Regions from separate parts of the Homo sapiens genome. Here all the other regions are linked to region 6. Evidence: promoter capture Hi-C in 16 types of primary human blood cells and fetal thymus (Javierre and others, 2016). All regions are on one chromosome and are shown on one strand. The core of a region is centred on a gene start or on the middle of the fragment in contact, and the rest is flanking DNA. Distances in the headings are between cores, read along the strand shown. Region 1 holds the start of ITGAX (integrin subunit alpha X). Region 2 has its middle 20 kb from the start of ITGAX. Region 3 has its middle 5.5 kb from the start of ZNF843. Region 4 overlaps ITGAD (integrin subunit alpha D). Region 5 holds the start of RUSF1 (RUS family member 1). Region 6 holds the start of STX4 (syntaxin 4). Region 7 has its middle 8.6 kb from the start of ITGAD.

Region 1 (3,157 bases), core at 645-3,144, 320 kb before region 6:
GGGACAGGCCCAGGGACATGTTCACGGCCTCCGGGGGCACTGTGGGGACAGATATGTGCATGGTCACTCTCGGGGGTACAGAGAAGGCTGTGGAAGAGCTGGGCAGGGGTCACCTCCACCTGGGAGACAAGGAGGTCTGACGGTGAAGGAAGCTGTCGGGTCTTGACAGAGCTGCGGGAGTGCGATGGGCGGGGAGGCCTTAAGGGGCCAGGAAGCATATCTGAGGGTGAGGGTCTCAGACACAGTGGAAGCTGAAAGTGACACTCCGGTGAGTCCACGGGCCCCTGGAGCAGGGAAGCCTGGGAGCCCGGCCCTGGGTCCCGGGAGGGGCGGTGACTCACCCTGCAGGCCGATGGGCTCACAGGCACCAGTGCTGTAGCCACACTGGTAGAGGCCACCCGTTTGGTTGGCAGCTGTTATCTTTTGGGGGGCTCCAACCACCACCCTGCGAGGAGACAAAGAACACTTTAGGTAAGAGTGTGGACGCTGCAGCACAGCTGCCACTCCGGCAAGTTTGCGTTCCCTCCCTGAGCCTCAGCTTCCTCATCTGCAAGATGGATTTTAATAATTTAAAGTCCATGTGGAAGGGATTTCTGTCTGTTGGATTCTCTGGCGTATGGAGACAAGAAATATTTGTTGAGTCTGGGTGTGGTGGCTCACACCTGGAATCCCAGCACTTTGGGAGGCTGAGGCGGGAGGATTGCTTGAGCCCAGGAGTTTGAGACCAACCCAGGCAACATAGTGAGACCCTGTCTCTATATATTTTTAAATGTATAGAAAAAAAGAAAGAAAAAACAAATAAGTGTTTGTTGCACGACTGATTCCTACTCACAGGCTGTCGTGTGGACTAAATCAGCATCCACCTGTGATGAGCCTGGCACTGCACTTACTGCTCTGTAAATGTTAGCTGTGAGACCGTGCCTGCCTTCAAGGCAAATCTTCATTAGCCAGGGCAGTCGCTACACCAGACAGAGAGGAGAGTTTGCAAATAACAGGGCAGGGCCGGGGGCATGGGGCCCTGAGCAGGGAGAGGATGGATGGAGCCAAAGGCCAGCACCACCTGGGCCTCACCAGGAGTTGGCATACTGGACCACGCTGTCTCCAAACCCAGCGCTGTCCACACGGAAGGCTGTCAGCTCCTCTGTGTCCAAGTTGAAACCTAGAGAAGTTGCTAAGGCTGGGAAAGAGGTGGGAAGAGAGCTTTGGAGAAGGGTCTTCCTTCTGCCTGGCTGCCCTCCACCCCCGGCCCCAGCGTCCCAATCTCCCCTCCGAGCCTGATGCCCGGGGTGCCTGGGTCTTCTGGACACCCAACTCATCCCCTTCTCTCCTTCCCAGGGTCCAGGGATGCCCCTTGCCCACCATCCACTATCGAGTTGCAGTTCTCCATTTCTGCAGAGCAGTACCCAGGCTCTAAAAAGGATCTTTCCCCAACGTGCACCTCGGGCGCTATGAGAGTGAGTCCAGGAAAACTTGCGGACCAAAGCATCCTGTCCACAGAGCACAAGTTGGCGCATTCTGCCTATTTTAAAAATCTCTGCAGTACAGAGACAACTGGCCTCTCTTCCAGCATCTCTGGAACTCTCCCAAAATTGGTTCATCAATATCCTCTCCCTCCACAAACTCCAAATCTCAGACCCTATGTGCCTGCCTCCCCCTCAGGCTTGACTGAGTCTCTCTTCCTACCCAGATCCTAACCCCCCAGCCTGAGCCCCCAGTTCAGGGCCCTGGCTCCCTTGGGCCTGGGTCCCCAGCCCTACTTCATTGGGGTCCAGGCTCACCTGTGAACAGGAGGAGTGCTGCCCTGGTCCTGGTCATGACTAGAAGGTCAGATGTGGAGCTCTGAGCTCCTGGGCCGTTGCAGGAAGAGCTGGACCAAGGTACTGAGGAAGCAAGTGGGCAGAGAGGTGGCCAGGGGAAGGAAGAAGATTGTCAGCATGAGTCAGAGGGGGCGGGCAGAGTACGCAACTGATCCGAGGACAGGCTCGGCCTCCCACACGCCCCCACCCCCCAACCGGAGTCACTCTCATCAGATGACTTGGCTTGATGCCCTTTGCTTAGATGGATGCAAATCCCTGCCCTGCCCCTCCCAGGCTCACCCTTGACTGCCAGAAGGCACCCCTTGACCTTGAAATTTCAGCCAGACTGGAGGGGGTTTGGGCAGATGCCAACCCCTCAGGACCCTAAAGGAAACCCTGGTGGGAGCCCTCCACTCTGACCTGGAAAGTCTGGGCCAAGGAGTGGGGCATCCGGGTCCCTAGGAGGAGCACAGAGCGAGTATTTGTTCATTCATTCATTCACTCATTTATTCATCATTTATTCAAGAAGCCTAATTTGAGCCTGGAGATGCAAGCCCTCTGCTAGGTGGGGAAGAAAATATAAACCACAAAGCACCAGCCCTGGGGTCAGTGGAGAGGCAGATGTATAAACAGCAAGTTCATTGCTGTGAGGGGGAAGCACAGAGACCACAGGGTGCCTCACCCGGGTTGTGAAGGTGTGGCTTTCTGAGAAGGCTTCCTGAAAGAGGTGGTGCTTGAGCTGAGCATTGAAAGCAACCAAAGTTGGGAGATGACAGAGCAGCCAGACATGGATGAGGCAGGGGACAGGAGGGTCTGTGTGTGAAATCAGCAATGGGAACCAGACAGTCAGGGTGGGAAGTTGTAAGAGACAAGGTCAGGGCCACTGGGAGGAAAGCAAGGGGAAGCAGGCCTCAGGCCGTGGAAGCCCCCCTAATGTACATCAATTTTTTTTTTTAATTTCAGAAACAGGGTCTTGCTCTGCCACCCAGGCTGGAGTGCAGTGGGTGCATAGTTCACTGCTGCTTCGAACTCCTGGGCCCAAGGGATCCTCCTGCCTCAGCCTCCTGAGTAGCCAGGACTATAGGATTGCACCACTGCACCTGAATATATATATATATTTATATATATATATTTTTTAATTTTAGTAGAGACAGAGTTTCCCCATGTTGGCCAGGCTGGTCTCAAACTCCTGATCTCAATCAATCCTCCTGCCTCAGCCTCCTAAATTGCTGGGATCACAGGTGTGAGCCACCACACCTGGTGAAGACACATTGATTTTGTCCTGAGAGTGGAGGACAGCATTGAAGGGAATTCATGGGGACTGAGATCTTCACATTTTCATTTTAGAAAGTGGGTTATAT
Region 2 (3,572 bases), core at 622-3,121, 300 kb before region 6:
AACAAAACAGATAAACTGCTGTATCGGAGGCTCTGAGTGATAGTGTTTTCAACAAGACCAGTGTTCTCATCTCTCTCCTGTAATGGCATGAGAATATGGAGTCCAGGGCTGACATGGTGCCTCCGCAGAGGCGGGACCCAGCCTCCTCTGTTCCACTCTTGCATTCTTCGATGTCAAACTCATCTTCAGGGTCCAAAATTGTGCACCGTGATGCTGACACTCCAGCCAGCGGGAAGGTGGTGAAAAGAAACGACACTTCTTCCCTCAAAGGACCTGGCTCCGAAGTTGCTCGCTTCACTGCTGCTCACATCCCATCAGCCAGAACCTCGCCAGGCAGCCACACCAGCTGCACAGGAGGTGGGGAGACGAACCCTATAACTAAGGGGCTATACGCAATATCCATTGCAGCGTAACAAACCACCACGCAGGACTGAGACATCAGTAATTGATTATTTCTCACAGTTGCATGAGGTGACAATCCAGGCAGTTCTGTGGGACTCTCCAGTGGCTGCAGGTGTTGGACAGCTGGATGGAAGGATCACAGCAGCCTCATGCATGCACAGTGGCAGTGGCCTCCGCTGTCTCCTCCATGAGTCCACTCTTTCTCCAGTGGGCCATATGGATCACGGCGTGGTGACCTCAGTGTTCCGAGGGGTGCAGGGCAGGATCTGCTGTGCTCCTAAAGGTCTAGGCTCCAGAACTCACACGACCACACTCCTACTGTATTCTATTAATCAAAGCAAACCACGGGACCAGCCCAGATTCAAAGAGGTAGACAGGCCGCACCATGTGATGTCAGGGACAGCAATGTCACACTGCAAGGGTGTAGGGCCGGGAAGCACCATTCACTGGGAGTCAGAATTGTAACCATCTCCCATGGTGGCCCAAATTAAGATTCTACTCTAAGTAGGAAAAGGAGAGTGGATACTGAAGGGATTCATTTATTCTGAAGTGAGAAATCCCCAAAAATAAAAGCAAGCAGACGTTCCTGGACTTGGCCACTTATCACCAGATTTATGGTCCTGTTTATTAGTCACTTTGTGGTCATGCTAGGGAAATCTGTCGCTTGAAATGATTGACTTTTCTAACCCATCATAAAGCTCCTATCTGGCTGAATTCAACACAAGCTTCTCATTTGAAGACGCGGAGGTGAACTCTGAGTTCACAGGACTTTAACTGCCCTGCAAAGACTGGCGGCTACAGGCACGGAGGCTGCAAGGACAGGCAACTACAGGTATGGAGGCTGCCAGGACAAGCAACTAGGTACGAAGGCTACAAGGACCAGCATGGAGGCTGCAAGGACAGGCGACTACAGACATGGAGGGTGAAAGGACAGGCGACTAAAGGTACAGAACTCTCTCTGTTCCCGGAGCAATTCAGGACTTCTGCAGATATTGAGGACTTTTATCTTTCAACATAAGGAAACACAGAAATTCTTAACAGACTTTATTTAAGTCAGGAGAGGAAATAGCAAAGAACCGTCTAAAGGTGACCGTGTTTTGTGTCACCCCCACAGATACAAAGGGCCATTGTCTCATTAGCCACCTTTTGAGGGCATCTCACTTCACTTTGAGTGAAATTGGAACTACTCACTCTGGCTTACAAAGCACTCATGCCCAAGCCCTGCCCACTCTCCCAGCCTCCCCTGCCCTCCCTTCTGCCTGGAGATCTTCTGGCCCTGCTTCAGTCAGGTGTCACCTCCCTTGGGGACCCTTCCTTCACCTCCCTAAGGAGTAAGCCCTCTCTCCTCCTGCCACATGTGAAACAAGTGTCCCTCTAAGCCATGATTTTCTTGTATTTCAATGAAGATCATGAAATTACCATTTTTTGGCTGGGCACAGTGACTCACACCTGTAATCCCAGCATTTCGGGAGGCCAAGGCAGATGGATCACCTGAGGTCAGGAGTTCAAGACCAGCCTGGCCAACATGGTGGAACCCCATCTCTACCAAAAATACAAAAAAAAAAAATTAGCCAGACATTGTGGTGCACGCCTGTAATCCCAGCTACTCAGGAGGCTGAGGCAAGATAATCACTTGAACCCGGGAGGGAGAGGTTGTAGTGAGCTGAGATCACACTACTGTACTCCAGTCTGGGCGACAGAACAAGACTCCATGAAAAAAAAGAAAGAAAGAAAGAAAGAAAGAAAGAAAGAAAGAAAGAAAGAAAGAAAGAAAGAAAGAAAGAAAGAAAGAAAGAAAGAAGGAAGGAAGGAAGGAAGGAAGGAAGGAAGGAAGGAAGGAAGGAAGGAAAGAAAGAAAGAAAAAAGAAAGGAAGGAAGGAAGGAAGGAAGGAGGAAGGAAGGAAGGAAGGAAGGAGGAAGGAAGGAAGGAAGGAAGGAAGGAAGGAAAGGAAGGAAGGAAGGAAGGGAAAGAAAGAAAGAAGGAGAAAGAAAGAAAGAAGGAGAAAGAAAGAGAGAGAGAAAGAAAAGAGAGAAAGAGAAAGAAAGAAAGAAAAGAAAGAAACATTTTTGTCCAAAAACATGTCATCAATTTCATATGCTTTAACCCAATATCATAACAGTTAAATAACAGCCACCCTCTCCCCACACTCCCTCATGCCTGTTCTGGGGCCATTCCTCTGAGGCTGTCAGGACAGTAAAAGAGAAAAGCTTTAGACCTAGGCAGAGCTGGGATTAACTCCTAGCTCCATTCCTTCCCAGCTGTATGACCTCAGGCAACTGGTATGATCTATCTAAGCCTAGGTTTCCTCATAAGTGAAATTCATGTAAATACCAAGGACTGGTGTGAGGATTAGAGAGGATGTATGTTCAGGCCAGGCTAGTGTTTACTGTGTTTGCAAAGTATGAGGGACAGGCACTGGGCATCCTCCCTCTGAGGAAGCAGCCACCAAAATGTCACCTGCACACACCTTGGCAGCAAGTGCTCCTGGTGCCCTGACCTGAACCAAAGGCACCGTGTCAGGGGCTGTGTTCACCTGTCAAACATCCAGCCAGCAGCACTGGTATCACTTTCTCTGGCCACTAGAGCCCACTCTCCTCACACTCAGGGCAGGCCAGAAGTGGTAGGAAATTAACACACTCTCCCCACCAAGAGCAGCCCTCATCCAATAGCTAAGTGGAATCGGTGTCTATGCGCTCCAGCCTTCTCCCCTGGGTGGGGTGATACTGAGGTGCGTGTTCTGCACTGCCTCCGAGAACTGCCCAGTGGGGTGAAGCTCCAGGAACTCACAGCAGCTTCTCTGTGGGTGATACACCTGTTATTGGCAGCCTTCCCTTCCTCGGTATTTCCTGGAGCCATCTCTTTATTTTATTTTATTTTATTTATTTTTTTTTTTTTAAGATGGAGTCCTGCTCTGTCGCCCAGGCTGGAGTGCAGTGATGCAATCATATCTCACTGCAACCTCTACCTCCCAGGTTAAAGCAATTCTCCTTCCTCAGCCTCCCAAGTAGCTGAGATTACAGTTGCCTGCCACCATGCATGGCTAATTTTTTTGTATTTTTAGTAGAGACGGGGTTTCACCAAGTTCGACAGGCTGGTCTCAAACTCCTGAGATCAGGTGATCCACCAGCCTCGGCCTCCCAAAGTTCTGGGATTACAGAGGCGTGAGCCA
Region 3 (3,141 bases), core at 236-2,735, 410 kb before region 6:
TTTCACCTTGTTGGCCAGGCTGGTCTTGAACTCCTGACCTCAGGTGATCTGCTTGCCTTGACCTCCCAAAGTTCAGGGATTACAGGCGTGAGGCACCATGCCCAGCCAGTCCCTGTCTTCAAATACAGTCACACTGGGGGTTAAACAATGTATAAATTTGGGGGCGATACAAACATTCAGTCCATAACACCCCCTATACCCCAACCCTAGGCAACCACTAATCTACATCTTATCTCTACAGATGACCTATTCTGGACATGTCATATAAATGGAATCATACAATGTGTGGTCATTCGTGTCTGGCTTCTTTCATATAGCATAATGTTATCAAGGTTCATCCACACTGTAGTATCTCATTTCTTTTTATTAGGAATAATACAGTTTCACTTTATGGATTGCTGTGGTTTGAACCTGTCCCCTAAAGTTCATGTGTTGGAAACTTAACCTCCAATTCAACTGTTGAGAGGTGGGAACTTTAAGAAGTGATTAGGTTATGTGAGCTCTTCCCTCATGAATGGATTAATGGCATTATTGCATGAGTAGGTTAGTTATCAAGGGAGTGGACAGCTGATAGATAAATGGATGGGTTCTGCCCCCACCCACCCCCTCTCTTGCACTGTCTTGCCCTTCCGCTTTCTGCTGTGGGATGAGGCAGAAAGAAGGCCCTCACCAGATGCAGGGCCCTTGACCTTCGACTTCCCAACCTCTAGAACTGAAAGAAAGATATTTCTATTCTTTATAAATTATCCAGCCTTAGGCATTCTACGATGCAGCACAAAACAGACTAAGACATGGATATGCCACTTTCTTCAATCATCAGTTGACAGACATTTGGGTTGTTTCCACTCGGGCTATTATGAATAATGCTGCTATGAATACTCACGTACAAGGTTTTTGTGGAATATGCTTTTATTTCTTTTGGTTACATATCTAGAAGGGAAATTGCTGGATCATATAACTCTATGTTTAAACATCTGAGGAACTGCCAGACCATTTTCCAAAGTTAATGAATGATTTTACGTTCCAACCAGCCATGTGTGAGGGTTCCAATCTCTCCACATTCTCACAAAAACTTGTTAATTAACTGTCTTTTCAGCTTTTTTTTTTTTGAGTCGGAATCTCACTCTGTCACCAGGCTGGAGTGCAGTGGCGTGATCTCAGCTCACTGCAACCTACGCCTCCCAGGTTCAAGTGATTCTCCTGCCTCAGCCTCCCAAGTGACTGGGATTATAGGCGCCTGTCACCACGCCCAGCAAATGTTTGTATTTTTAGTAGAGACAGGGTTTCACCAAGTTGGCCAGGCTGGTCTCAAACTCCTGAGCTCAGGTGATCCGCCCACCTCGGCCTCCCAAAGTGCTGGGATTACAAGTGTGAGCCACTGCCTGTAAATATTATCATTTAAAAAATATCATTTTTAAAAATATTATTTAAAAAAAAAATTTTAATGTTTTTTAAATATTATTTTTAAAAATAATAATAATGTTATTATTATTTGAGATAGAGTCTCCATCTGTTTCCCAGGCTGGAGTGCAGTGGCGTGATCTCAGCTCACTTCAGCCTTCACCTGCCAGGTTCAAGTGATTCTCCTGCCTCAGCCTCCTGAGTAGCTGGGACTACAGGCACCCGCCACCATGCCTGGCTAATTTTTTGTGTGTTTTTAGTACAGACTAGGTTTCACCATGTTCACCAGGCTGGTCTCGAACTCCTGAGCCCAGGTGATTCGCCCACCTCAGCCTCTCAAAGTGATGGGATTACAGGCATGAGCCGCCACTACTGGCGTAATTACCTGTCTTTTTTATTATCACCATCCTAATATGTATGATGTGGCACCTCGTTGTAGTTTTGATTTGCATTTTTCTGAGGACTAATGATGTTGAGGATCTTTTCATGTAATTATTGGCCATTTATATAACTTCTTTGAACTGTCTATTCAAGTCATTTGCCCATTTAATTTTTTTTCTTTTTCTTTCTTTTTCTTGAGACAAGGACTCCTCTGTTGCCCAGGAGTGCAGTGGCACAATTTCGGCTTACTGCAGCCTCCACCTCCATGGTTCAAGTGATTCTCAGCCTTCCGAGTAGCTGGGACTAGAGGTGCAGGCCACCACACTCGACTGATTTCTTTCTTTCTTTCCTTTTTTTGTTTTTTGAGACTGAGTCTTGCTCTCTCGCCTAGGCTGGAGTGCAGTGGCGTGATCTCTTCTCACTGTGACCTCTGCCTCCCGGGTTCAAGTGATTCTCCTGTCTCAGCCTCCCGAGTAGCTGGGATTACAGGCACATGCCACCATGCCTGGCTAATTTTTGTACTTTTAGTAGAGACAGGGTTTCACCATGTTGTCCAGACTGTTCTCAAACTCCTGACCTCAGGTGATCCGCCCACCTCAGCCTCCCAAAGTGCTGGGATTACAGGCGTGAGCCACCGTGCCCAGCCTAATTCCATTTTTAAATTGGATTATTTGTCTTTTTTATCATTGAGTTGCAATAGTTCTTTATACAGTCTAGGTACAAATCCCTTCCCAGATATATGATTAGCAAAGATTTTTACCTGCTCTGTGGGTTATCTTCTCCTTTTCTTTTTTATCTTCTCTTTTTCTTAATAATGTCCTGTGAATCTCCCTGACGTCTGGGTATTTGGAAAGAAAAAGAAAAAAATTAAAGAATAATGTCATATGAAGCGCAAGAGGTTTCAATTTTGATGGTGTTCAGTTTCTGTATTTTTTTCTTTTGTTGCTTGTGCTTTTGGTGTCATATCTAAGAAAGCATTGCTTAATTCAAAGTTATAAAGATTCTAAGAGTCCTAACTTTTAGTTCTATGATTCAATTTGAGTTAACTTTTATATGTATTGTGATATAGGGATCCAAATTCATTCTTTTGCATGCAGATATTCAATATCTACCTTGTATATATACATATATTTTTTTAATTTTTAATTTTTTTTTTTTTGAGACAGAGTCTCCCTCTGTCACTGAGGCTGGAGTGCAGAGACACAATCGCAACCCACTGCAACCTCTGCCTCCCAGGTTCAAGGGATTCTTGTGCCTCAGCCTCTCGAGTAGCTGGGATTAGAGGTGTGTGTCACTATGCCCAGCTAATTTTTGTATTTTTAGTAGAGACAGTGTTCTGCCATGTTGGCTGGGCTGGTC
Region 4 (3,404 bases), core at 636-3,135, 370 kb before region 6:
AAATTTCCTGCAGTCTGGGCATGAGAGCAGGACTGGAGTTGGTGAGAACCACTCGGTCACCCCTGCCTCATTCATTTTTTTCCCCAGGCCCCACCACTGGAAGAACTTTGAGGGGTGAGGTGGAGACTCCAGAATGGGACACTCCCGTGTGACTTTAAACTTACAGGACAGACGGAGGCCTTCCTCTGGGTTGCTGAGTCACAAGGGGCCACCGTTCAAGGCAGAAGAGCCTCCCAGAAGTAAAGAGGGTGCGTTTGGTGGGAGCATCTCTTGTTTAAGCCAAATTCTAGCACCACCCCAGGGCTGCTCCCAGGGGTGTGTGCAGGAAGCCAAGGATCCCCGACCGTCAGCCCAGCTCCTTCCTACAAGAACCACATGCCTTTCTCGGGGGTCCCACCTCCTACATCGTTTTAGGAATAGACTGCATGTGCACGGGGCAGGCCCACGGTGAGTGCCTGGGTAGCACAGGGGGTGCGCAGGGGTGAGGGATGCGGGAGAGGAGGTGAGTGGGGAGAAAGGCACCAGGACGACCTTGGGTGACAATTCCTGAGTCCCTGACTACTCCATTCTCTGATAAAACCTCAGGCATTTATCCGACACCTCCTACGTGCCCCGGGCTGAGCACCCCACACACATGATCTCAATCCTAAGCTGTGAGCTTATCTTCATCTGAGAGTTACTGAGACTTAGAGCCCATCACCCCAGGGTTACACCCAGAGTAGCTCACGGGGAGCCAGGATGGGAGCCTGATGTGTCTGAGCCAAAGCCCGGGCCTCTGGCTGCTGTGGGGTGGGGAGGGGTCCTGGGGTCCAGGCTCTGCAGAACCAGGCAAAGGGGAGGCATAGCTGCAGAGGAGCCTAGTCCTATATCAGGGAGACTGGCAGCGAGGCAACCAGGAGCACCCCGGGGGGAGGTTCTCCCTGCAGCCCCGACATGCCCCTTGGTAGCCCCTTTCCCTGGAGCCTCCCTCAGCCTCTGAGAAGAGCTGTGCTGACCCAGGGTTAGGAAGTGGGGGTGGCAGTCACATCGCCAGGCTGGGGTCGGGGTTGCTTACACCACTGTCAGGATGCCCGTGGCCGTGAACGTCAGGCCTTTCAGTTGGACGATGGGATCCACCAGGCTCTGCTGGCTCGGGCTGGTCCGGAATTGGGTGAAGGTGAAGTGGATCTTCAGGAGGTTTGAGTACTGCATCAGTGCAAACTGCAAAGGCCAGTGGGGAGGGCCCAGGGCTCAGTGCCTGTTACTATTGTTTTTATTTTAATTTTTTGTAGAGACAGGGTCTCTCAAACTCCTGGCCTCAAGTGATCCTCCTGCCTCAGCCTCCAAGTAGCTGGAACTACAGGCACACGTCACATGCCTGGCTTTGTTTTTTGTTTTGTTTTGTTTTTGGTAGAGACAAGGTCTCACTATGTTGCCCAGGCTGGTCTCGAACTCTTGGCCTCAAGCAATACTCCCACCTCAGCCTCCCAAAGTGCTGGGATTACAGGTGTGAGCCACCACACCAAGCCATATTGTTTTCAGTTTTAATAAACTTTATTTTGGAATTATTTTGGATTTACAAACCATTTCCCATGTGTTTTGAAGCCCTACAAATAATATACTGAAACCCAGAGAAGAAAATTCATTGGCCCAAAAATACAAAATATAAACTGGAAAATCTAAACCAAATGATATTTCCTTCACAGTTTATTAAAAATAACTTTGCCAACCACAATATTTGCTACCCTTAGCTTTTTAAAAATTTTATCACACATTAAATCAATTTGTGTATTTCCTCCCTTCTCAAGAATTTGTGGCTGGGCGTAGTGACTCATGCCTGTAATCCCAGCACTTTGAGAGGCCAAGGTGGGAGGGTTGTTTGAGCCAGGAGTTGGAGACCAGGTTGGGCAATATAACAAGACCCCATCTCTACAATAAAAATTTTTAAAAATTAGCCAGGCATGGTGGCATGCACCTGTAGTCCCATCTACTCAGGAGGCTGAGGAAAGAGGATCACTTGAGCCTGGGAGATCAAGTCTGCAGTGAGCTATGATTGCACCCCCACACTGCAGCCTGGATGACAGAACAAGACCCTGTTTAAAAAACAAAACAGTGGGGTTTTTTTGCACATACATAGGCACTAGTTATGGGAAAATAAAATAATAAAAAGAAATCATTAGTTACATAGAAAATATGTCAGTCAAATTCCATAGCAAAATTATTTTTTAAACACTTTCAATGTTTTTAAACAGCAGAAACATTGTATTTCCTGTAGCTTTTGGATACATTATTAAATGCCAAGAGGGCCTCCTAGGTCAGGGCTCAAGTTGGGCCTGTGCTGGGACCATAGCTTCATTCTCCACCCCAGCCCCATCACACACGGCTCACTGGCCTGCCCCCACCCCTCCCGGGATGCCTCCCCGAGGCCAGCCTCCCCCGTCCCCCAAACCCCAGCCCCAGGTGCCCAGTCTTCACCAGGGTGTCAGTGCCCTCAAACTGGCCCATGACAGCTTGGACAAAGCCCTTCATCTGGTTAAAGTCATTTTGGTCAATGCTTCCAGAGCCGTCAATCAGGAAGACGATGTCCATCTCTTGATGTGGACACTCTGTGGGGGAATGGGGAGGAATCGGAGATGCACTGCGGGGGCCCAACCCCCTCCTGCAGCTCCTGCTCAACAGAGCCCGGGGGCTGTTCTTGGCATCCCCACCTAGTTTCCGACCCCTCCTTGGAGGAGGCCCCAGTCTGCCACCCCAGCCCCCTGCTCCCTTCCTCCCACATGGCCTGGAAAGAGAGGGATGACAACACAGGACCCAGGTGGGCTCCTCATCCATTTAATCAACAAATATTCATTAAACACAGATGCTAGGGGTGCCACAAGCATCAAGGGCGAATGTTTAGCAAAGTGGTTCAGGGCGCGTGTTCTGGAGCCAGTGTGCCTGGGCTAAACCCCAGCTCAGCCACGTGCTAATTGGTGAATTCAGGCACATTACTTAACTTCTCTGGACTTCAGTGTCCCTATCTGTAAAATGAAGGTAATATCAGTGGCTACCACGTGGGATCACTGCAAGGATAAAGCAACACGCACATGGGTGCTGGAGACAAGTCCTGGCCCTCTGCCAGGGTCAGCCGCTGGCACCATTCTCACCACGTGCCAGGCACCTTCGAGGCCTGTAGGATATGCCTGTAGGGATGCTGTGGGGGTGGGGCAGGGATCCACCCCAGACCCCACCCTACCCCCAGTCGGTCAGAGGTCCTTATTTCCAGCTACGTGGAGTTGGCTCTGAGCTGAGTCCCTTCCCAGGAATCACGCTAGGCAGAGGGGAACTGTTGCCCACTGGGACACCTCCTGCCCCTGGAGGAAACCTTTACCGATGACTGGTTCAGCGTCTGAAGGGCCAGCTGCACTCTGAGCCCCCCAGGCATT
Region 5 (3,491 bases), core at 862-3,361, 470 kb before region 6:
GAGGCGGGAGGCCTGGGCAACACAGAGAGACCCCAACTTAAATTTTTGTTAAAAAATTTCCCTTGGCCGGGCACAGTGGCTCATGCCTGTAATCCCAGCACTTTGGGAGGCGAGGCAAGCAGATGAGTTGAGGCCAGGAGTTCAAGACCAGCCTGGCCAACATGGCAAAACCCCGTCTCTACTAAAAATACAAAAATTAGCTGGGTGTGGTGGTGAATGCTTGTAACCCCAGCTACTCCGGAGGGTGAGGCAGGTGAATCACTTGAACCCAGGAGGTGGAGGTTGCAGTAAGCCAAGACTGTGCCACTGCACTCCAGCCTGGGTGACAGAGGGAGACTCCATCTCAAAAAAAAAAGTTTCCCTTGATTCCACTGATTAGCTCAATTCTCCTTCTAAAAGTCCTCATATTAAATAACATGTACCCCTCTACAGCAATTGAAATAGTTCCAACTTTGCATTTATTTGTATGATTTGATCAATATCCTTCCCTAATATAAGTTCCAAAAGACCAAGACCCTTGTTTGTTTTTGCTCACTATCCCAATGAGCACATAGGTAGCAACAGGTATTTGTAGAAGAAACTGGCAAACCATTGGTAAAAAAGAGATAACAAACACGGAGTTAATGACAACTGCACGGTTCAAGCGATTTTCTTGCCTCCGCCTCCCGGATAGCTGGGATTATGGCCACACCACCCCCACGCCCAGCTAATTTTTGTATTTTTAGTAGAGATGGGGTTTCAACATGTTGGCCAGGCTGGTCTTAAACTCCTGACCTCAAGTGATCCACCTGGCTCGACTTCCCAAAGTGCTGGAATTACAGGCGTGAGCCACCACGCCCAGCCCAAGGATCACTTTTGAGGCCAGGAGTTTGAGAGCAGCCTGGGCAACATAGGGAGGCCCTGCCTCTATTTAAATAAATATGTTTTTAAAGTACTTAGTCTTCAAACCTTGTTTTATTTTTGTCCTCTATTCAAACCAGTACCTGAATTTAGACAACATTACAGAAATGTTGTGATTAGGCCATTTGTATTTTGAAACCCGAAATTTAAAGAAAAAAAAAAAGAAAAGAAAAGAAGTGTTCAAGTTTATCTCAGTCAGAGAGAGACTGTGTTTGTGTGAGATAAGGCGAAGTGGGGTAGAAGGGCCTTCCAGGATTAAGTCCACGAGGAAGGTGACGGTTTGGGAGAATCTGAAGTTTCAAATAAGGAGTTGTCGGTTGGGATCAAACTGTGGGGATCCAAGAATGCCAGGCTAAGAAACCAGGATATTTTATTTTCTGATAAAAAGAGGATGCTTTTTTGGCAAATTTCTGCTTCGGAGTGAAGATGCTGCACTAGATGGGAAGGAGAAGAGGAGAAATGGAAAGAAGAAAAGGTGAGTTCCAAGGACAGAAACACTCCCTCTTTGGACTCCCCCCAATTTCATGGACTCTCTCCCGCAAAAAAACACACAAGAACTTCCTGCCTTGTTTCCTTGTTTTGTGACATCATTGCAATCTCTTGATTTTTTTCATCCCTCGGATTCCTTAGCATCCTTCAAAAGTAATGTTCCTGCAGTCTCGCAGAAGGCCGAAGGATGGAGAATTTCTAGTCCAGGCCAGGGACACTCAGAAGAGAGAAAAAAAAAAGAACAAAAAAAGACCCAAGCAGCTTCACAGGGCCTCATCTGGTCCAATTTCTTCTCATGATGCATTCATTCACTCATAAATATCTTTTGAGCACCTACTATGTGTTGGGTAGATCTAGGGATAAAATCAGGGTTAAAAATACAGTCGCTGGTCTCACAGCAAAAAAGGCACCTGAGGCCCAGAGAGGGCCACTGACTTGCCAAAAGTCACAAGCTAAAACTTCTGTGGCCGAACCGCGTCTCGAACACAACTGGCGGAGGCCCACGGCGCCTGCAGCCCAGCTGCAGAATGCTACAAAGCAACGGGGGCCGGTGCCGGGGCGTCCGAAGCAGCGCCGAGGCCGGAGAGAGCGACAGTCAGTTTCCTAACTGCGCGGCGGACGCCGAGGCCGGCGCCTGTTCTTGAAAGATGTCCCTCTGCAGCCGCGGTAGCCCAGCCGGAAGTGCCGCCTGCCACGTCCACCGTGCGGCAGGGGCGGGGCTGGGATCCAAAAGCTCGGCATGGCTGACGACGCGGGTTTGGAGACCCCGCTGTGTTCCGAGCAGTTCGGCTCCGGGGAGGCACGGGGCTGCCGCGCCGCCGCGGACGGGAGCCTGCAGTGGGAGGTCGGGGGCTGGCGCTGGTGGGGGCTCTCCAGGGCCTTCACGGTCAAACCTGAAGGACGAGATGCGGGCGAAGTGGGGGCTTCCGGGGCCCCCTCACCGCCCCTCTCCGGGCTCCAGGCCGTGTTCCTGCCTCAGGGCTTCCCTGATAGCGTCAGCCCGGACTACTTGCCCTACCAGCTGTGGGATTCCGTGCAGGTCAGCTCGGTCGTCTGGGGCAGAGGACAGTGCAGGCCACTCCTCCCTCCCCAATAATGGACGGGTGACTGAGACTCGGAGCCCGGGGGGCGGGGGGTCTGACATGCCTCATACACCAAGAACAAGAACAGATGAAGGCACTTAGACCGCCACGCTCCTACGCCCGCTTCTCACCCTACTTGTTTTCTTCTCCAGGCGTTTGCTTCCAGCCTCTCCGGCTCCCTAGCCACCCAGGCAGTCTTGCTGGGCATAGGGGTGGGGAACGCAAAAGCCACTGTTTCAGCTGCCACGGCCACCTGGCTCGTGAAAGGTGAGCTGCACCCCTGGAGCCTCACGTATTGCTGCTTTCAGCCCTGCTTTCGCTGGGCTCTTATGTGTATATATGTATGGACTCGTGCCCCATTAGGTAGAATTCAGGCAGGTCTCCCCAGTGATTAGAGTGGTGCTTTGTAACCCAGTCTTACTTCCCACATCTGGAAGACCCTCATCCCACTCACCAGCCTAGCAGCCGCACTCCATTCCCCACACAGACTTCTGAGTCTCAATCATCTGGATCCCAAATCCCGTCCCCTCCCCTTTATCCCTATTCTCTTTGTGGAAGATTGCATAAGAATGCAATTGATGGAATAAAACTGCCAGCTGCCCAGGATAGGGGAAATTGGTGAGCTCCAGAAAAAAAAGATATAGTTGGTCCTGAGAAGGAGAGAGGAGAGCCTGGAAAGAATGGAAGGTATTGTGTATGCTCTGGGATACCAGATGATGCTGTAAATAATAGAGTGACTATCTGCTGAATATGTACAGCTTTTAAAAAATTGTTTAAGGAAAAAAAATACAGTTTGGTACCATGCCACCCAGAGAGGGAAATAGAACAGAAAAGGGAAATTGTTACATGTTCTACACGAGGAGGCCCCATGGCTTTTGCCACTGTCCTTTGTCTTTCACTACTGCTCGCAGGGGATATTTATTAGGCTGGTGCAAAAGTAATTGCGGGGTTTCTTTGTCGTTATTGCCATTAAAGGTAATGGAAAACCCGCAATTACATTTGAGCCAACCTAATAGATCT
Region 6 (3,557 bases), core at 463-2,962:
ATTGAATGGAAGAAAATAAAGCAGGGTGTTATAACCGGACTGAGCATCAGGAGACCTGGCTTCCTGACCTTGAGCAAGTTCTTTCTCTCTCTGAGCTCAGTTTCCCCATTTGGAAAAGTCATCCAATTGGACTCCATGATCTCTGCAGGCCCTTCCTTCATACACCTGTCATCTAATACTTCATGAAACATTTGCTGAAATGTCCTCATTTCTGAGAAAAAAAACCCACCTGGGTTTTTCTCATTCTTGTGTTGACGGAGTTATAGTTCTCATCAGCTTCCTCCTTCTGGGGCTCTATGGCTGTGGGAAGACACAGGGGTATTGGGGGTACTTGTCTCCATAGGATTTTTAGGGAAATATAATTTATCATAAAATGACTAAGGCTGAGCCTCTAAGAGGAGAAAGTAAGTTTATTTTTCTTTGCATTACATCACTGAGTTCCCATAGGTATGCAGAGGCCACCTAACAAAACTCCATCTCCCTGCCCAAAGAATGCCCAGTGGGCAGCGATAACTGTGTAAGTAAATGGTTTCATTGTAAATAAAAGAACCTGAGAGGCGGACTTGTGCTGTGGAGAGTACAATGGCCTGGAGGCCAGGAGACAGATGCTAGACCCAGGCCTGCTGTGTGACCTGGATATATCACTGGCTTCTCTGGGCCACACACTCCCCAGATATACCAACAACAGGGCAGGATCAGAGGGAAGGATCTGTCTGAGGTCCCAGGAGCTCACCCTTCAGCTGCAGGCGGATCTCCCTCCCCAGCTGTTTGATCTCATCGCGCAGGTTCTGCAGCTCCTGCTTCATGCCTGAATAAGAGAAGGCCAAGACTCCCAAACAGCAGCCCCCACCTCAACAAACCACTCTGGCCACCACCTGCGTGGAACTACAACCCCCACAATCCCTGGGGCGGAGCATGCGCCCTGCAGCCGGGGTTTCACTCACTCTCCTCGGGAAGGGGCGTGGCCAGGATGGTGACCTGCTGTTTCTCCAACTCCTGGACTTTATTCCCCAGTTTGACAATAGTCTGCCGAATTGTCCGGACCTGGGGAGGGTGACCGAGAGGGCTGAAAGAGATATGGGGTACTCCAGACCACGCTACTCCTCGGGTCCTCCTACACCCTCGCGAATCCAGGCGGAGACCCCAGCCCCTTACCTTGTGGAAGAACTCCTCGTCCGGGCTCCCCAGCCGTGCCGTGCCCGGGTGCACCACCAGCGCGACCCGCTCCTTGTCCTCTTCGTCCGAGCTGTCATCCCCCTGCCAGGCCCGGAGTCATTGGCACCACCGTTTCGCTGCGGCTCTTACCCCGCAGGACCCACAGGCTTCCGGGACTTTCCTTCCTGGCCATCAGCCACCCCTCCCTATCCCGAAGACCAGAAGTCCTGCGTTCCAGTTCGTCCGCCCGTCCCCATCCCCGCTGCCCTGGCGTCTCACCTGTCTCAGCTCGTGGGTCCTGTCCCGCATGGCGGCCTGAGCTCTCCCTCCCCGGCGCCAGAGCCGGGAGGCCCTCAAATTTGGAATTCCCGTACCCCGCTCACACTCTGACACTCCCCTCCCTCCCCCTGCGGACCCCAACACCCCCACGAGCCGCCAGAGGCTCCGTCCCTTGCACCGCCCACAGTCAATGGGAAGGCGCCGACCCCGGGGACCCCCCAAGGTTCCACAGGTTGGAATTCCCTTTTCTTCCCCGCTCCAGCTCCCGCAGCCTCAGCCCCGCCCCTCCGTGATAAATTCGGGGCATGCGCACATGGTCGCGTCTCTTCCTTGCCCGAGGCTGGGAAGGTGGAGTCGGAAGTTGTTGCGCCCCGAGCGGAAGCGGAGATGCCTGGACGCGAGAACTTGCTACCGTCACCGGAACCGTTGCATCTTCCAACGGAAATCTGGTTGCCAAAAGGGGTAGGAATACGTCATTTGTACGTAATCCGAGACACCCGCATCTCACATCACCCCATGGTGCCCCCACCGCGTCACGTGACCAGCCCGGTCCCAAACTCGTGGACCGCAGAATGTGACCCTGTGACTGTCACGTGTCCCGGCTCTGTCACCGCCGTCTCTGGGACGCCGTTCTCATCACGACGTCCCCGGCACCCCAACGACCGAGCGACGCCCACACGGCCCCCGCGAGGTGGGGAGGGGCGCGCCGACCACCCCCAGAGGCCTTTCGAGGCAGTGGGTGGTAGGACCCTTGCTGACCTCGCCTTTATTGCTTTCGGGTCCAGGGCGTGGGCGGACTGACGACTTAGCATTTGGGGCTGTCAGCATCATGGGACCTTGAAAATCGGGAAATAATAGGATCCGAGTCGTCAGCGTCAGAAAATTGCAGGGTTGTGTGGGCAGGGAATCTGGGGGTGGGAAGTGACCTCAGCCAAGGCAGAAATCTCTTCTTCCGCATCCTTCTGGCGCAGCCTCTGACAGGTGGGCGGCCAGCCGGCGCCCTCCTTGAACACTGCAGCCCGGCTGCACTCACCACCTTGTGAGCCGTCAGACCATGTCAGGGCAGCTCAGGCTAAGAAAAGTGTTTGTATTGATCACGCTGCCTCCCTGCCACTCACACCCCCCAGCCCCTGCCTTGCATCTGAGGCCAGGTAATGACTTTGTTCTTAACTGAATCTGGGGAGTTCCTAGCCCAGTACCAAGAACATTACGGGCCCTCTATAAATACTTGTGGACAGAATTTCAGGCTTTCATGTATCTGAGGATAAAGCCCCTGGTTCCTTGGTCTTCTTTAGGCTTCAGGCTTTCTGACTGTGACACTTCTCTAATCCTGGCTATCTAGATATTCACTCATTTTTTATTTTTAAAAATTTTTACGAGATGCGGTCTCACTATGTTGTCCAAGCTGGTCTCTAACTCCTGGGCTTAAGCAATCCTTCTGCCTCAGCTTCCCAAAGTGCTGGGATTACAGGCATGCACCACCATGCACAGCAACATTCAGTCATTTAATGGATATTTTTTGGGCACATAGTATGGGCCAAACACTGTTCTAGGGCTGGAGATACATCAAGGACTAATAGACAAAAATTCCTGCACTCGTGGAACTTATATTCTCTAGAAGGAGTCCCCAAGGTCACTCAGCAAGTCTCAGCATAGCCGGGAATGAATAACAGGTCTCCTGGACCCCAGGGCTCTGTCCAGGAAGCTTCTGTGAAGGTACAAGCAAGGAAAGGAATGGACCCTTTCTGCTATGCCCTGGTCAGGAAACCTAGATTCCTGGGACTGAGTTGCTATGGACTTCTGGAAATCGCTTCCTGTCTCTAAGTGTGGATCTCCCTCTGCACAGTGGGTAACTGTAGGGGGATGGGGAGATCATCTTTATGGGTATCGGCTGCTCTAAACTTCAGTGATGATGAGGTTGGAAACTGTCAAGTGCTGTGTGATTCTATGTGAGGAGTTTTGGCTCTTCTCCTCTTCCTGTTAAAACCCAGCTCAGGCAGGGTGTGGTGGCTCATGCCTGTAATCCCAGCACTTTGGGAGGCTGAGGCAGGCAGATCACCTGAGGCCAGGAGTTGGAGACCAGCCTGGCCAACATGGCGAAACCCTGTCTCTACAAACATACA
Region 7 (3,110 bases), core at 593-3,092, 350 kb before region 6:
CACCTTCCTGGCTGGTGGAGCTACCCTCCTTTTTTTTTCTCTTTTTTTTTTTTTTTTTGTTGAGACAGAGTTCTACTCTGTCCCCCAGGCTGGAGTGCAGTGGCATGACCTCAGCTCACTGTAACTTCCACCTCTCAGGTTCAAGCGATTCTCCTGCCTCAGCCTCCCAAGTAGCTGGGATTACAGGCACCTGCCACCATGCCCAGCTAATTTTTGTATTTTCGGTAGAGACAGAGTTTTGCCATGTTGGTCAGGCTGGTCTCAATCTCCTGACCTCAGGTGACCTACCCACCTCTGCCTCCCAAAGTGCTGAGATTATAGGCATGAGTCACTGCACCTGGCTGGAGCTACCTCTTTTTATTAAGCCTGTGAAAAGCACATGCTCACCTTCTCAGCACTGCATGCAACCAAGGGGATGGAATTTGACCCAATCCTAGTCAGTGGGAAAGAACTAAACCGCCCCCGCAAGGACGATCAATTGGAAGATCAGAAAGAATCTGTCAATGCTGAGACTCTGCATTAAACACTAACCTGCACCTGAACCTCTTGCAGAGTAAAGGTCTTCTGTCTGCTCTTACATGCTTTTGTTTTTTTCTATTATTTGCAGCCAAAAGCAACCTTTCAATACAGGTATGAACTCTACTGCCATTTCTACAAGCTTCTTGGAAATTATGTGACTTGTACCTACTTTTGCTACTTTAAAAAGCACCTTTGATTTATGTCACTGTGGTTTTGCTGTCTCCTCTGTATTCGGTGACAACACTAATCACTTTTGAATAGGAAAGCTACATGTAGCAGTTGTTCTAAGAAATCTCTATTGCTTTACCTGAGGCAGGCAGATCATGAGGTCAGGGGTTCGAGACCAGCCTGACCAACATGGTGAAACCCCCGTCTATACTAAAAATACAAAAATTAGCTGGGCGTGGTGGTGCGCGCCTGTAATCCCAGCTACTCAAGAGGCTGAGGCAGGAGAATCACTTGAACCCAGGAGGCAAAGGTTGCAGTGAGCCAAGATGATGCCACTGCACTCCAGCCTGGGCGACAGAGCAAGACTCCATCTCAATAAATAAATAAATAAGAAAATAACACAAAAGCTTTCAGAGGTTCATGCGACTGTTTGATAAAGTTTCAGAATGGGCAGCACACTAGGGACAAATACATGTCAGAACCAATACAACCTACCTGTCAGGGAGTATAATACCTTCTAGATATTTTCGGGTTTTGGCTCACAATCACTTATTCCGGTATGCATGTCTATACTATACGTGCACTGGGCTCAATATTTAAAAGTCAATATTGACTTTGATGACATTATTGTAAATTGTAGCAATTAGATTAGTTTTTAATCACAACTTCCATGCTTTTGAGCCATTGATCCATTTTGTGATTCGGGGATCTAATGCAACACAATAGCCAACCCTGAAAATGCAAATGTAATAAATGTACACAATAACACACAAAGGAAGAATATCAGAAAATAACACCTTGTCGGCCAAGTACAGTGGCTCATACCTCTAATCCCAGCACTTTCGGAGGCCGAGGAGGGCGGATCATGAGGTCAGGAGTTCGAGACCAGCCTAGTCAACATGGTGAAACCCCATCTATACTAAAAATACAAAAATTAGCTGGAAATGGTGGTGCCTGCCTGTAATCCCAGCTACTCCAGAGGCTGAGGCAGGAGAATCGCTTGAACTTGAACCTGGGAGGCGGAGGTTGCAGTGAGCCAAGATCATGCCACTGCACTCCAGCCTGGGTGACAGAGCGAGACTCTGTCTCAAAAATAAATAAATAAAAATGGGCATGGTGGTACGCCCCTGTACTCCCAGCTACTTGGGAGGCTGAGGCAGAGGCATCACTTGAACCCAGGAGACAGAGGTTGCGTTGAGCCGAGATCGTGCCACTACACTCCAGCCCGGGAGACAAAGTGAGACTATCTCAAAAAATAATAATAATAAAATAAAATAGAAAATAACAACTTGTTGCCTGAATTTAGACAAGAACCCACTGTAGTCCCTGGAGTCCGTGTGCCACACAATTATTAAGGCCACAACACTATTTCTGTGCAAATCACTAGTTTCAAATGTTTGAGATGTATGGGTTTCTTGCTCTTTTTCTCTAAAACCTTCCACTTAGAAGACCATCATTGACCACCAGTGGTTCGTGGAACACATTTTGAGAAACACCACTCTAGGGTCAATTTTTTTTTTTTTTTCTGAGACATGATCTTTCTCTGTTGCCCAGGCTGGAGTGTGGTGGTCCAAATCACAGCTCACTGTATCCTCAACCTCCCAGGCTCAAGTGATCCTCCTGCTTCAGCCTACCAAGTAGCTGGGACTACAAGCACATGCCACCATGCCTGGGTAATTTTTAAATTTTTTTGTAGACACAAGGTTTCAATATATTACCCAGGGTGGTCTCAAATTTCTGAGCACAAACAATCCTCCTGCCTCGGCCTCCCAAAGTGCTGGGATTACAGGCATGAGCCACTGTGCCCAGCCATTAGGGCTGAATTCTTACAAAGCCTTATCTTCTGATTCCCTTTCTGAGGAAACTGCATAATAATTAGTCATCCTGGGGACTCAAAAGCTTCAAAATCCACAGGGATTTTGGAGCCTCTGCTGATGTATAGGACAGACATTTTTGGCTGGAGGTAAAGGGCCACTTTCCATCTTCCCTTCAAATCACTCAACTGCCTCCCTTCTGTTTTTCTAATTGAAACATCCACACGGCCCGGGTCCCTTGCTGGTGATAGCTGCAGTGGCGTCACTCCGAGGTCAGGAATGGCTTGTCCTGTGAGGCCCCCAGCTCAGTGCCAAGCACCATGATGAACTTTATGCCAGGATGGTGGCATAATAGCAAGAATGACCTTATTGTGGGCAGCAGCTCTCAATGTGGGACCCCAACATGTTCTTCAATCACTCACTATATGCAGACAGTGTGCCCTTCAACACATCCTAGGACTTGTAGGAAACGCTTGTGAGTATTGGTCACTCCAGAGACCTTTCCAGGTGGAAAAGTAGCCACTGGAGGTTGTCCCTTCTCTATTCTATGCCCCCTCCACCCGACAGCTCCACCAGCTTACCATCGGCACCAGCCCTGAGAGTGGAGTG

What was found. The method cuts DNA at HindIII sites, captures the fragments that hold promoters and counts their contacts. A CHiCAGO score of 5 or more calls a contact.
Region 1: the fragment with the promoter of ITGAX here is called in contact with the fragment with the promoter of STX4 in region 6 in 2 of 17 cell types (neutrophils and monocytes); the score reaches 9.4 in neutrophils.
Region 2: a contact is called between a fragment that was not itself captured here and the fragment with the promoter of STX4 in region 6, in 1 of 17 cell types (monocytes). The highest score is 5.4, in monocytes.
Region 3: a fragment that was not itself captured here is called in contact with the fragment with the promoter of STX4 in region 6 in 14 of 17 cell types (naive CD4 T cells, naive CD8 T cells, total CD8 T cells and 11 more); the score reaches 9.8 in naive CD4 T cells.
Region 4: a contact is called between a fragment that was not itself captured here and the fragment with the promoter of STX4 in region 6, in 2 of 17 cell types (total CD8 T cells and naive CD8 T cells). The highest score is 5.5, in total CD8 T cells.
Region 5: a contact is called between the fragment with the promoter of RUSF1 here and the fragment with the promoter of STX4 in region 6, in 1 of 17 cell types (monocytes). The highest score is 5.2, in monocytes.
Region 7: a fragment that was not itself captured here is called in contact with the fragment with the promoter of STX4 in region 6 in 1 of 17 cell types (monocytes); the score reaches 6.3 in monocytes.

What each region holds. Positions count from the first base shown.
Region 1 is chr16:31,353,913-31,357,069 of GRCh38, reverse strand. ITGAX (integrin subunit alpha X) reads right to left here and starts at 1,894. Exons shown (of 30, transcript NM_000887.5): 1 at 1,779-1,894; 2 at 1,072-1,177; 3 at 342-445; 4 at 1-39. The coding sequence starts at 1,815. RefSeq lists enhancers at 2,123-2,312, 2,503-2,632. The HindIII fragment of the contact is 18,983 bases long and covers 1-3,157 here.
Region 2 is chr16:31,333,301-31,336,872 of GRCh38, reverse strand. No RefSeq gene overlaps it. Among named protein-coding and RNA genes, the nearest start is that of ITGAX, 20 kb to the left of the region's middle. The HindIII fragment of the contact is 1,483 bases long and covers 1,130-2,612 here.
Region 3 is chr16:31,446,676-31,449,816 of GRCh38, reverse strand. No RefSeq gene overlaps it. Among named protein-coding and RNA genes, the nearest start is that of ZNF843, 5.5 kb to the right of the region's middle. The HindIII fragment of the contact is 6,267 bases long and covers 1-3,141 here.
Region 4 is chr16:31,401,296-31,404,699 of GRCh38, reverse strand. It overlaps ITGAD (integrin subunit alpha D), which reads right to left. Exons shown (of 30, transcript NM_005353.3): 6 at 2,455-2,585; 7 at 1,055-1,200. Among named protein-coding and RNA genes, the nearest start is that of ITGAD, 9.7 kb to the right of the region's middle. The HindIII fragment of the contact is 7,259 bases long and covers 1-3,404 here.
Region 5 is chr16:31,507,011-31,510,501 of GRCh38, reverse strand. It overlaps RUSF1 (RUS family member 1), which reads left to right and starts at 2,111. Exons shown (of 13, transcript NM_022744.4): 1 at 2,111-2,428; 2 at 2,624-2,738. The coding sequence starts at 2,129. RUSF1-DT (RUSF1 divergent transcript) reads right to left here and starts at 2,038. Exons shown (of 2, transcript NR_186401.1): 1 at 1,466-2,038; 2 at 936-1,329. RefSeq lists enhancers at 1,561-2,130, 1,695-2,409, 2,410-3,125 and silencers at 2,231-2,280, 2,341-2,400. The HindIII fragment of the contact is 29,640 bases long and covers 1-3,491 here.
Region 6 is chr16:31,031,713-31,035,269 of GRCh38, reverse strand. STX4 (syntaxin 4) reads right to left here and starts at 1,712. Exons shown (of 11, transcript NM_004604.5): 1 at 1,435-1,712; 2 at 1,156-1,257; 3 at 945-1,044; 4 at 734-808; 5 at 230-300. The coding sequence starts at 1,464. RefSeq lists enhancers at 854-1,364, 1,877-2,388. The HindIII fragment of the contact is 4,602 bases long and covers 1-3,141 here.
Region 7 is chr16:31,383,147-31,386,256 of GRCh38, reverse strand. No RefSeq gene overlaps it. Among named protein-coding and RNA genes, the nearest start is that of ITGAD, 8.6 kb to the left of the region's middle. The HindIII fragment of the contact is 1,492 bases long and covers 1,097-2,588 here.